Linked DNA regions of Homo sapiens: regions 2 and 3 are each linked to region 1. The links are contacts of gene promoters, found by promoter capture Hi-C in blood cells and fetal thymus (Javierre and others, 2016). All regions are on one chromosome and are shown on one strand. Each heading gives the region's core, a stretch centred on a gene start or on the middle of the fragment in contact. The rest is flanking DNA. Distances are from core to core; before and after follow the strand shown. Region 1 holds the start of DYDC1 (DPY30 domain containing 1). Region 2 holds the start of PLAC9 (placenta associated 9). Region 3 overlaps TSPAN14 (tetraspanin 14).

What was found. Contacts are between HindIII fragments. The CHiCAGO score rates a contact against its expected background, and 5 or more counts as called.
Region 2: the fragment with the promoter of PLAC9 here is called in contact with the fragment with the promoter of DYDC1 in region 1 in 9 of 17 cell types (fetal thymus, non-activated CD4 T cells, erythroblasts and 6 more); the score reaches 7.2 in fetal thymus.
Region 3: a contact is called between a fragment that was not itself captured here and the fragment with the promoter of DYDC1 in region 1, in 1 of 17 cell types (fetal thymus). The highest score is 8.2, in fetal thymus.

Annotation. Positions count from the first base shown.
Region 1 is chr10:80,355,184-80,358,478 of GRCh38, forward strand. It overlaps DYDC1 (DPY30 domain containing 1), which reads right to left and starts at 1,572. Exons shown (of 7, transcript NM_001269053.2): 1 at 1,529-1,572. It overlaps DYDC2 (DPY30 domain containing 2), which reads left to right and starts at 1,598. Exons shown (of 5, transcript NM_032372.6): 1 at 1,598-1,642; 2 at 2,710-2,862. The HindIII fragment of the contact is 3,945 bases long and covers 1-3,295 here.
Region 2 is chr10:80,131,020-80,134,314 of GRCh38, forward strand. PLAC9 (placenta associated 9) reads left to right here and starts at 1,711. Exons shown (of 4, transcript NM_001012973.3): 1 at 1,711-1,807. The coding sequence starts at 1,744. The HindIII fragment of the contact is 6,415 bases long and covers 1-3,295 here.
Region 3 is chr10:80,507,322-80,510,616 of GRCh38, forward strand. It overlaps TSPAN14 (tetraspanin 14), which reads left to right. Exons shown (of 9, transcript NM_030927.4): 4 at 1-53; 5 at 1,980-2,150. Among named protein-coding and RNA genes, the nearest start is that of TSPAN14-AS1, 27 kb to the right of the region's middle. The HindIII fragment of the contact is 2,011 bases long and covers 624-2,634 here.

The DNA.
Region 1 (3,295 bases), core at 322-2,821:
CAATTACAGGGGATAGAATGCCACTGTGTCTAAACTTGTCCCTGGACAAATGCATCTAGCATTTTGCATAAAATTTCAGAGACAGTGACATCCTGGGGTCCGTCCATAACCCCCAATTTTTATTCTATGGATGAACCCCAGGATGTCAGTGTCTCTGAAATTTTATGCCATAACTATGTGCATATGCCATATGACAGTGGTGGGAGGGCAAAATGGTATAACTCCTATGGAGGAGAATTTGACAACATCTAGAAAATCACATATGCATTCACCCTTTGACTCATCAATCTTGCTTCTTGGATCCTATCTCAAAGATATAGTTGCAAAAATATGAAATGGCATATGCACACAGTTATTTGCAGCATTATTTACAATAGTCACACTGAAGCACCATCTAAATGTTCATCAAATTGGGGATTAATAAGAGCAACACAATGGATTATTATGCAGATGTACAAGAGAATGAAGAAACTAGAGAGTGATCTCTAAGACACAGAATAAAGAAAACGAGGTGCTGAAATTGTATATGGTCTGTCATCTTTTGTATTAGCAACAGCAGTGGGGAAAGGAATGTGTATGTGTGTATATGTAAACATAGTCATAAAAACTCTAAAAACGGAAAACAAACTGGCACAAATGAACCTAATTCCAAATGAGGTTGATATTGGTGTCTCAACCATACAGAGAAAAGAATTATTACAACTGACTTTGGAACACAGTATCTTCACTGTATTTCTTCAGTAGGATATACCTGAAAGACCAAAACGCTACACAGACATCTCAAAGTCATTTGAAGTGAAGTTAAAAAAAAAAAAAAAAAAAGGTGCACAGACTCCTGTTGCTGCTCCAGAAGGATAAAATGTGGGAAGGGAGGAAGGGGACCATTATCCCTAAAGAGAAAACTTCTGGCCTACCAGCGGGGCCAGGTCAGGGGAGGCTCTGTCTCGGATTTCTGGGCATATCAGTGGGACCCAGGCAAGGCCTGCCAACTCCCTTAGCATGTTCCTGTCTGTGAAACGAGGATAATACCCATCTCTCCTGTGGTAAGCAATGTTATTTTTCACATACACCAATAGGCATCTTGGCTCAACATAAGAAAGCCCTTTCCCACAGAAACAGCTGCCTCCAGCGTGAAGAAGGTGCCACAGAGATGGAAGGAGATTCCTTACCCACACCTGGGAGACAGCTAGCCAGCCAGCCAGCCAACTGGGCGGGGGCACCCGGGCAGGGGTGCCAGATACAGTATTGTATCTGGCAACCTCCCGGGGCGCTCAGTGTGGTTTTCCCACCCGGGAGTCTGGAAGGGTCTCCCGCAGCCCGCAGGAGACGCAGCGCTCCCCGCTCAGGGGGAGCAGGAGGACAGCTGGCCGCTTTCGGGAGCCCCAGGCGCGAAGCGGCCTCTCTCCGCCTCAGGTGAGTCCTGCTCGACGCCCAAGGCCCAACGGTCAGAACCGCCTCTGCCCGCCGGACCCAGCGAAGCTAGGGGAACAAATCCCAAAAACAGTTCGGGCCTTTCCGGTGCGCTCACCCCTACACACGCGCCTGCTCGCCACCCAGGAGCGGCGTCCCGTTGCCAGGCAACGAGAGCTCGCGCCTCAGGAGCCAGTGTAGGCGCCGCAAAGCGGAAGGGGCGCGCGGATAGGTGAGCAGAGGGCACGCGGTGGGCAGCGAAGGGGGAACGCGCAGCAGAGAGGAGAGGGCGTGCAGGAGTAGGAGCAGGCGGCAGAGTAGAGGGGGCGCGGCAGAGTAGAGGGGGCGCGGCAGAGTGGAGGGGGCGTGCAGGAGTAGGAGCCCGCCGCAGAGTAGAGGGGGCGCGGCAGAGAGGAGGGGGCGTGCAGGCGCGGGGCGCCCGGCAGAGAGAAGGGGTCGTGCGGAAGGGGGCGCGCGCCAGGGGAGGGGGCCAGAGAGGAGGGGGCGTTCAGGAGTCGGGCCTGCGGCAGAGATGAGGCGGTGTGCAGGAGGGAGAGCGCGCACGAGGGGGCAACGGGCAGAGAGGAGAGGGAATGAAAGAAGGGGAGCGTGGCAGAGAGAAGCGGGCGCGCTCCAGGGGGCGGGGTCCAGGGAGGAGGGGGAGCGTAGGATCGGGGCGGGAGGCAGAGAGGAGCGGGCACGCGGGACGGGCGTGTGCTCGTGAGGGGTCGAGGAAAGGCGTATGTGGAGGCGCGCGGGGTGGGTGAGCCGAGGAGACTTGCTACACAGAAACCTGGAGGAGTAGGGGCACACAAAAGAGCAAGGGACCCTGACTGGCAGCCCGGCATGCTCTGGGAGAGACAAAGAGGTGGCGGGCTTTGAGGAGGAACCAGGAAGGGCAGCCAATCGGAAAAGGGTGGAAGACCTTCCAGAGTCCCTGGAAGACCGTCACTGCAAGCTGCTAATAGCTTGGCAGTTTCACAACTCTGCACCTTTGCTCTTGCTGGTGACCTCTGCTTGGTTCCTTTCAGAACCAATTCGGGTGCCCCACCACCGGGAAGCCGTCCAGTCTCCACCAGGCCCAAACCCTTGCAGTCTTCCCTGGCCTAGTCGTCTGTGCATGTGCTAGCCTTTCCTGTGCTCTCTTTCAGCTTATGGGCGGGGCAGTGCCAGGCAAGAGAGGCCTTAATAGATGTTAGTTGAGCTAGTAAATGCCAGATTGGGCGTGGAAAAATCAAAGGGAAGCATGAGGGCAGGTGGCAGAACTCTCTCAATGAATAAGTCAAGAAATATTTACAGAGCTCCCAGTGTGCCAAGCGTGGGCGGTATACAGTAAACAAAGACAACCCCTATTCTTATCACCTTGCCTACTGAGTGCAAGTCCAGGAACTGTGTAAGCAGACCCTCAGAGGAGCTCTGGGAAACACTGAAAAATAGCCTCTCCCCCCATTGGTGAGTGTACCCTAAGTTGGTCTGAGTGGGCTTTAAAAGGCATCCCCTTGGCCAGGCGCGGTGGCTCACCGCCTGTAATCCTAGCACTTTGGGAGGCGGAGGTGGGCGGATCACCTGAGGTGAGGAATTCAAAACCAGCCTGGCCAACATGGAGAAACCCCATCTCTACTAAAAATACAAAAATTAGCCAGGTGTGGTGGCGCACACCTGTAATCCCAGCTCCTCAGGAGGCTGAGACAGCGGAATTGCTTGAACCAAGGAGGCAGAGATTGCAGTAAGACGAGATTGTGCCACTGCACTCCAGCCTGGGCGACAGACCAAGGCTCTCTCTTAAAAATAAAAAATAAAAGGCATCCCCTTGACTCCTTCCCCTCCAGCCCTCAGATTATGGCTCTATGCTGGCTCTACTGTCTTTGTACCATATTTTAGCGAC
Region 2 (3,295 bases), core at 461-2,960, 220 kb before region 1:
CGGAGTTTCACCACGTTGGCCAGGTTGGTCTCAAACTCCTGGCCTCAGGTGATCCACCCACCTCGGCCTACCAAAGTGCTGGGATTACAGGCGTGAGCCACTGCACCCAGCCAAGATTTAATGTTATGACTGAGATAAACATGAATGAAAGCAAATCTTCAAAATATCTATGACTTGATCTCATGTATATACATTTGTGTCTGAATATACATTAGGTAGATGGGGAATGCATAGACGTGGAACAGGCAGAGCCTACCAAGTTGAGGGGACTGGACCTGAATCATTGGACGGAGGGAATTCGTAACAGAAAAGACTTTCATGTTTTACTCTGTATACTTAATTACTTTATGCTCTACCGCAACAATAATGTATTGTATATGTTTTTGTGTGTGTGTGTGTTTTCTTAGTCTTAAATTCAAAATATAAGGTAGCCCACTGGCTCTAAGCTACAAGAATCCTTATGAGTTGGGCAGTTCTTTGACAACTTTTTTTCCCACCTGGCGAAACTATCAAGGAATGTCCTACCACCAAGCGTGAGAAATTTTTGGCATTCCTGAAATAAATTCTTCTTCTGAGCCAGCTCATGTGGGCATCATAATCTCCTTGAAGGCTTTTAAAAGATTTAGATCTGAGTCTGTCTCAGATTCTCGGGCTCAGAACCAGAATTTCTCCGTCTGAGGCTACTATCTTGCTCTGGAGGAGGGAGTGAGAACTGGATCACTGGTTAGCGTGGTAACTGTTTTGGACAATTGCATAGCCACAGCCAGGAACACAGAAGGCAGAGAGGCAGCCTTGATCTGCAAGAGCTCCAGGTAATCCCAACGGGGACCCTTGATGGACAAAGGCATTCTCCCAGGCTTGGTGATGAATGTGTTCCACTTACAGCCAGACGAGACACTCACTCAGGGCTCTGCAGCAGAGAAGTTAGAGCTACAGCTTTTTTGCTTTGTGTTTTTACTAAAACTTAATTTGTTGTTGCACTTGTTGGATGGGCATGTCCCATAGGGGAAGTTTCCACTACTGTGCTCTAAACTTTGGGCTGCTTGTACCATCTTACTTATCCCCTCATTAATAATGAATTGAATAAAATCTTTAGTATATGCTAATTTCATATCTTTGCGAGAGTTACGATTTTACCTTTTCTTTTTAAAATTACCTTTTCATATTTCTATCACTCCCTTACCAGAGCAGTGAGTTTCTGGGTCTCCCTCTTAGGGGCAGACACTGTTCCATGTAATTAGAATTAATTTCTTGTTCGTAGGTAGACAGAGAAAAGCTGCCAAACTCCCAGGAGACAGGGGTTCAGATCCTGTGCTATGGCTGAGAGTGATGCCGAGGAAGACACTTCCCTCCGAGTCTTAGTCTGCCCGCCTGTGAAACTGGCTCGTAACAAACCCCTGACCCCAGGCTCGGTCGCCTTGAGCCCAAGACCTCACCCAATGCCCCCCGCCCCGCCTTCCCTCCCGGGCTCCCAGGAGGTGCGGGGACTCGGGGGGCGGCCCCTTCCTCGGGAGGCGCCCAGGTGGCACGTCGGTGCCTCAGCTCCCGGGGTCTCTGGGCTCCGCGCTGCCCACGGGGTGCCGAGGGGCCTCTGGAGGGGGCGGGTTCTCTCGAGCCAGAAAGTCCGGAGCCGCCCAGGAATTTTGGCTCGAACTGAGTGCATTTCCTCTCGGGCCGGCCGGGTGCGATCCGGGAAGGGCGGCTGCGGGCAGACGCGGCGCTGCGCTCGGCCAGGCCGGCACCATGCGGCCCCTGCTCTGCGCGCTGACCGGACTGGCCCTGCTCCGCGCCGCGGGCTCTTTGGCCGGTGAGTGGGGCGCAGGGCGCGGCAGGGGACCTGGAGCCGGGGAGACCCGCAGATGGCGAGGAAGGAATGAGCGAGAGAGACGGAGAGAGAGCTGGACACAGCAGCGAGATGGACAGAGAGGCAGATGCAGGGAGGGAGGGATGGAGAGAAAGATTGAGAGGAAACAGACTCAGAAAAAGGCAGAGAAGTAGAGCAACGGAGAGATAAAGGAGATAGGGAAGAATACACAGTGAAAAGGAAAAAGGAGAGGCTGAGACAGAAAGAGGCTTCCCCTGAACAGATATGAACTAAGATAGAAAGAAAAAGGAGTTTGAGAGACAAAAGAGAAGAAGGAAAGAGAAAAAGTGATTAAAATGGCAAGGGGTGGAGGGAGAGAGGATATTGAAGAAAAGAGAAAGATTTGAGAGAGACCAAAAAGGAGAGAGAGGGAAGCTCGATGCCCGGAGTAGAGCTGGCAAGAGAGAAGGAGCCAGGATCTGGAGTGGGAGGTCACAGCTGCTGGGTGGGGCAGCCCCGGAGGCCAGCTCCATCTCAGAGGGCCTGTGGAGGCTCAGGCCTGGCTTTATAGGACATTGCATAAGAAGCCACACTCCAAAGGATGAGTGACCCAGGCTAGCCCAGCACAGCCTTAAGGAACCAGGCAGTCGGGCCCAGGAGAAAGGCCACCGATTCACCTGCCAGGTGGCCTCAGGTGGATCTGCAGTCAGTGAAGAAGTCAGCCTCCCGGTTTCCAGGGAGCTTCTCTGGGAAACTGAGCTATGTTGGGTGGAGATGGGGGACTGGGTGGAGGTGGAGAGCTGTGCGGAGGAGAGAGGCTGTCTGGGTACTCCATTAGCTGGGTTCCTTGCTTTTCACTGTCCGCTTTCTTCCCCTCACCTACCCCTCAGGCGGGCGGATCACAAGCTCAGGAGATCAAGACCAGCCTCGCTAACATGGTGAAATGCTGTCTCTATTAAAAATACAAAAAATTAATCGGGCGTGGTGGCACATGCCTGTAGTCCCAGCTACTCGGCAGGCTGAGGCAGGAGAATCACTTGAACCTGGGAGGCGGAGGTTGCAGTGAGCCGAGATCAAGCCACCGCAATCCAGCCTGGGTGACAGAGCAAGACTCAGTTTCAAAAAAAAAAAAAAAAGAAGAAGGAAAGGAGGAAAGTATTCATGTATTAGTGTAATTTCACACTGATTTCATATATTTTTGTGCATAATCTTTCAGATTTTAGATGATATATCTTAACTTTTGATTATGAAAACTTTTGGATACAAAAAAATACAAAGTAATAGTATGTGAAAGAATCATGTAATATACTTATCAACGCTGCTTCAAGAAGTATCAGTTCATGGGCAGTTTTATCTCATCTATAGCCTCCACCCTCTCTCCCCTCCCTGGATTATTTTAAAGGAAATCCAGGCATTGTATATTTTCTTTCTTTCTTTCTTTCTTTTTTTTTTTTTTTTGAGACAGGATTTCATTCTGTCACCCATGCTAGA
Region 3 (3,295 bases), core at 379-2,878, 150 kb after region 1:
GGTTCGCCGGCTGCGTGGGGGCTCTGCGGGAGAATATCTGCTTGCTCAACTTTGTGAGTGGCCACAGAGACAAGAGTGGGATAGGATGCAATGGGGTACAGGCTCTGCTGGGCAGGATTATATGTTACCTGGTCAGAGCAGGTGGCAGCTCTTAGGAGCCTCCCCTAGGCCCCTGCCTGGGAGCAGGAGGCAGCCATTTGCACTCTACTGTCTAGAGAAGCTGGTTCCTCCCAGCAGGAGAATTAGGTACCCTCTGGTTTTTAGCCCTGGGTGGGAGGAGCCAGCTGCCTATAGGCCAGCTCTACTCCCCGCTCCTTTGCCTTTTATCTTCCTTCAGAAATTCTAAAAGAATTGTTTGTCTGCTACTGTCCTTTGCCCTTCCTGGCTAAGATCAAAAGATGTTGCAAGTAACCTTAAATCATTTCCCTCCTCCAAGGATGTGTGAGTCTGTTGGATGTACAAGTCAGAATCCCAAATTTCCTGGCAGAACTGCAGATTACTAAGAGTTTAGTTTTATATTTAGATACAAATTCATGTTTAGATTTATTCAGTTAAATAACACCTGGTGGGGAAAACACATTATCATATTTTGCAGTATATTGTTTGTTGACTTCATTAGATCAAGCTTTCTTTTTCTTGGACATAATTTTAAAAGCAAAACTATGGGCTTTTTGTCCTAATTTTTTCTCTGGAAAAAAAAAAGAAAAGCTATGTTTAGCATCTTGCTTTTATATGAACAGAGATTACGTTTTGGCAGGCCTTGTGTGCATATGTGTGTTTCCTTTTTCTTTTCTTTTCTTTTTTTTTTTTTTGATACCGAGTCTCGCTCTGTTGCCCAGGCTGGAGTGCAGTGGCGTGATCTCGGCTAACTGCAAGCTCCGCCTCCCGGGTTCACACCATTCTCCTGCCTCAGCCTCCCGAGTAGCTGGGACTACAGGCGCCCGCTACCATGCCTGGCTAATTTTTTTTTGTATTTTTAGTAGAGACGGGGTTTCACCGTGTTAGCCAGGATGGTCTCCATCTCCTGACCTTGTGATCCTCTCGCCTCGGCCTCCCAAAGTGCTGGGATTACAGGCGTGAACCACCGCGCCCGGCCGTGTGTATGCTTTTTCTTACTTTGAAAGATTACTCCAAATTGGCCGGTTGTGGCAAGCTGCTTAGTGTCTTATATGGCCAGTGATAATGTCTGTGAGAGCGCAGACTGCAGGCTGGGAGTCTGCCCTGATGGGATGTGGACCTGTGGCTGCACTGGCCCCTTGCAGAATGCCACCACTGCTTGTGGCCTGGGGCAGCTGAGCTTCTGGAGGGGTCTTTATGCTGACGATCATATACTTTCATGCAGAGTTGGTACAGATAACATTGGCACTTCCAGAATTGTAAAGAGCCCTGCAGGGAACTCACATGTCCTGCATGAACTATGTGACCTCAGGCAAGCTATGTACCTCGTGACATAGCCATAGTTTCCTCATCCCTAAAGTGAGGTAACAGATACGTAGGCACTCGATGGTTTTGTGTGTGTAGTGGGGAGTCATCAGATAATGTCTTGGGCACAGTGTCTGTCCTAAAGGAGCCGACACCCCAGGATGCCACCCTGGAGGGTCCAGGTGGAACTGCTGGGGTAGGACAGCCATTCATTCCTGTGATAGGGGTCTCCTCCTTGTCCAGGGAGGAGGGCTGCTTCATAGCAAGTGATTGACACATTGGCTTGGAGCTTTCTCACACTTTTTCACGCATTTGAGTGTTATCAGCAATGCAGTGACATGGGTAGGGATAAATAGCCCCTTTTTACAGATGAAGCGAAGTTGTGCAGAGTCACCCAGCTAACTCTAAGTGTGGGGTTCTGGGGCCCCGATGTGGGACTCTCAGGTGCAGAGCCCACGCTCTGCTGAGGATGGTGGTTCTGGGTCAGGTGGGGTTATGTGTGTGGGGGTGCAGGCTGGTGGGGTGGTGACTTCTGCTCCCGTCCCCTTCCCCTGCAGTTCTGTGGCACCATCGTGCTCATCTTCTTCCTGGAGCTGGCTGTGGCCGTGCTGGCCTTCCTGTTCCAGGACTGGGTGAGGGACCGGTTCCGGGAGTTCTTCGAGAGCAACATCAAGTCCTACCGGGACGATATCGATCTGCAAAACCTCATCGACTCCCTTCAGAAAGCTGTAAGCACCTCCCCAGCGGGCCCCCGATAGAGCATGCACCTCCCTGTGCTGCCTGGAGCTGAGTCTAGCAGGGGCATCAGGCCTTCTCTGTGGGTTGTCTGCCTGCAGCTTGGCAGACAGCAGGGAGGCCGTGGAACAAGCCACTCCACCTCTGGTCTGTTCCACTTTGCCGGCTTGTGGTTGCCTGGTGGGCCAGCCCTTTCCCATTGGGATTGGGCAGGCAAGTCCAGCTGTACCCGAGGCCACCCACCCCCCACGTGCCCGGCCCTCCTCTTTCGGCCCCAGATCTTTCCAATCCTGCCCAATAGCCATACCAGCTGCAATCCTCCTTAGGCGCTGCATACCGTAAGGCACAGCTTCTTCCCCCCGGCTCATGACTCACCATCTGACGCTATTCCTATCCCCTTCCTCCCCGGGACCTTTTCCCCTTCCTCCCTGGGACCTTTTCCCCTTCCTGTTTAAGAAGCCAGGGCTGCCTGGAGGAAGCTTTGTCAGATCTAGTGGAATGTGACCTCCCTGGAATATGTGCCCAGGGGTTTGTCTAAGCAGTTCCAGGCTATGGCCTTTACTCCATCTGGTCCCCATCCCTCTTATCTCTCTCATGTGTGGCTGCACCTGGACGCTTGGACCATAGCTGTCACAGCCCCCTGGGGAGGAACCCACTCCTTGGCCATGTCAGCCTGTGCAATGCAAGGCTCTTGTTTGATCTGTGTGCTGACAGAAAGCCCAGCTTCCTTAAGAACTTTTCATGTGGAACACTTTGGTTTTGAGAAGAAAATAAATCAGAAACCATTAAAAATCTATGATTCACTCTCATTATTAACCAAAACTTGTTCACCTTTATTTCATGTATTATGGGATCCAGCAAAACCCATTTATGGGACCAAAGACCCTGCCTGTATTGTTATTACTAATGTGTATTAGTCTGTGAAAGTCACCAAATCCCCGCCATGTTTTGATGCCTCTCCTTTCTTTTCTGTTCAGTGCCACCGTCCTTTTTTCATTTTCACGTAGCCTTGGCTTGCCTGGTCTCAGCATGCTAGGTTGCGGTTCATCCCTGCATTGCCTTAAAAACATAGTTTTCTGCATTGACTTCTTTTTCTTTTAAAAATAAAACTTCTGGCCGGGCGCGGTGACTCACGCCT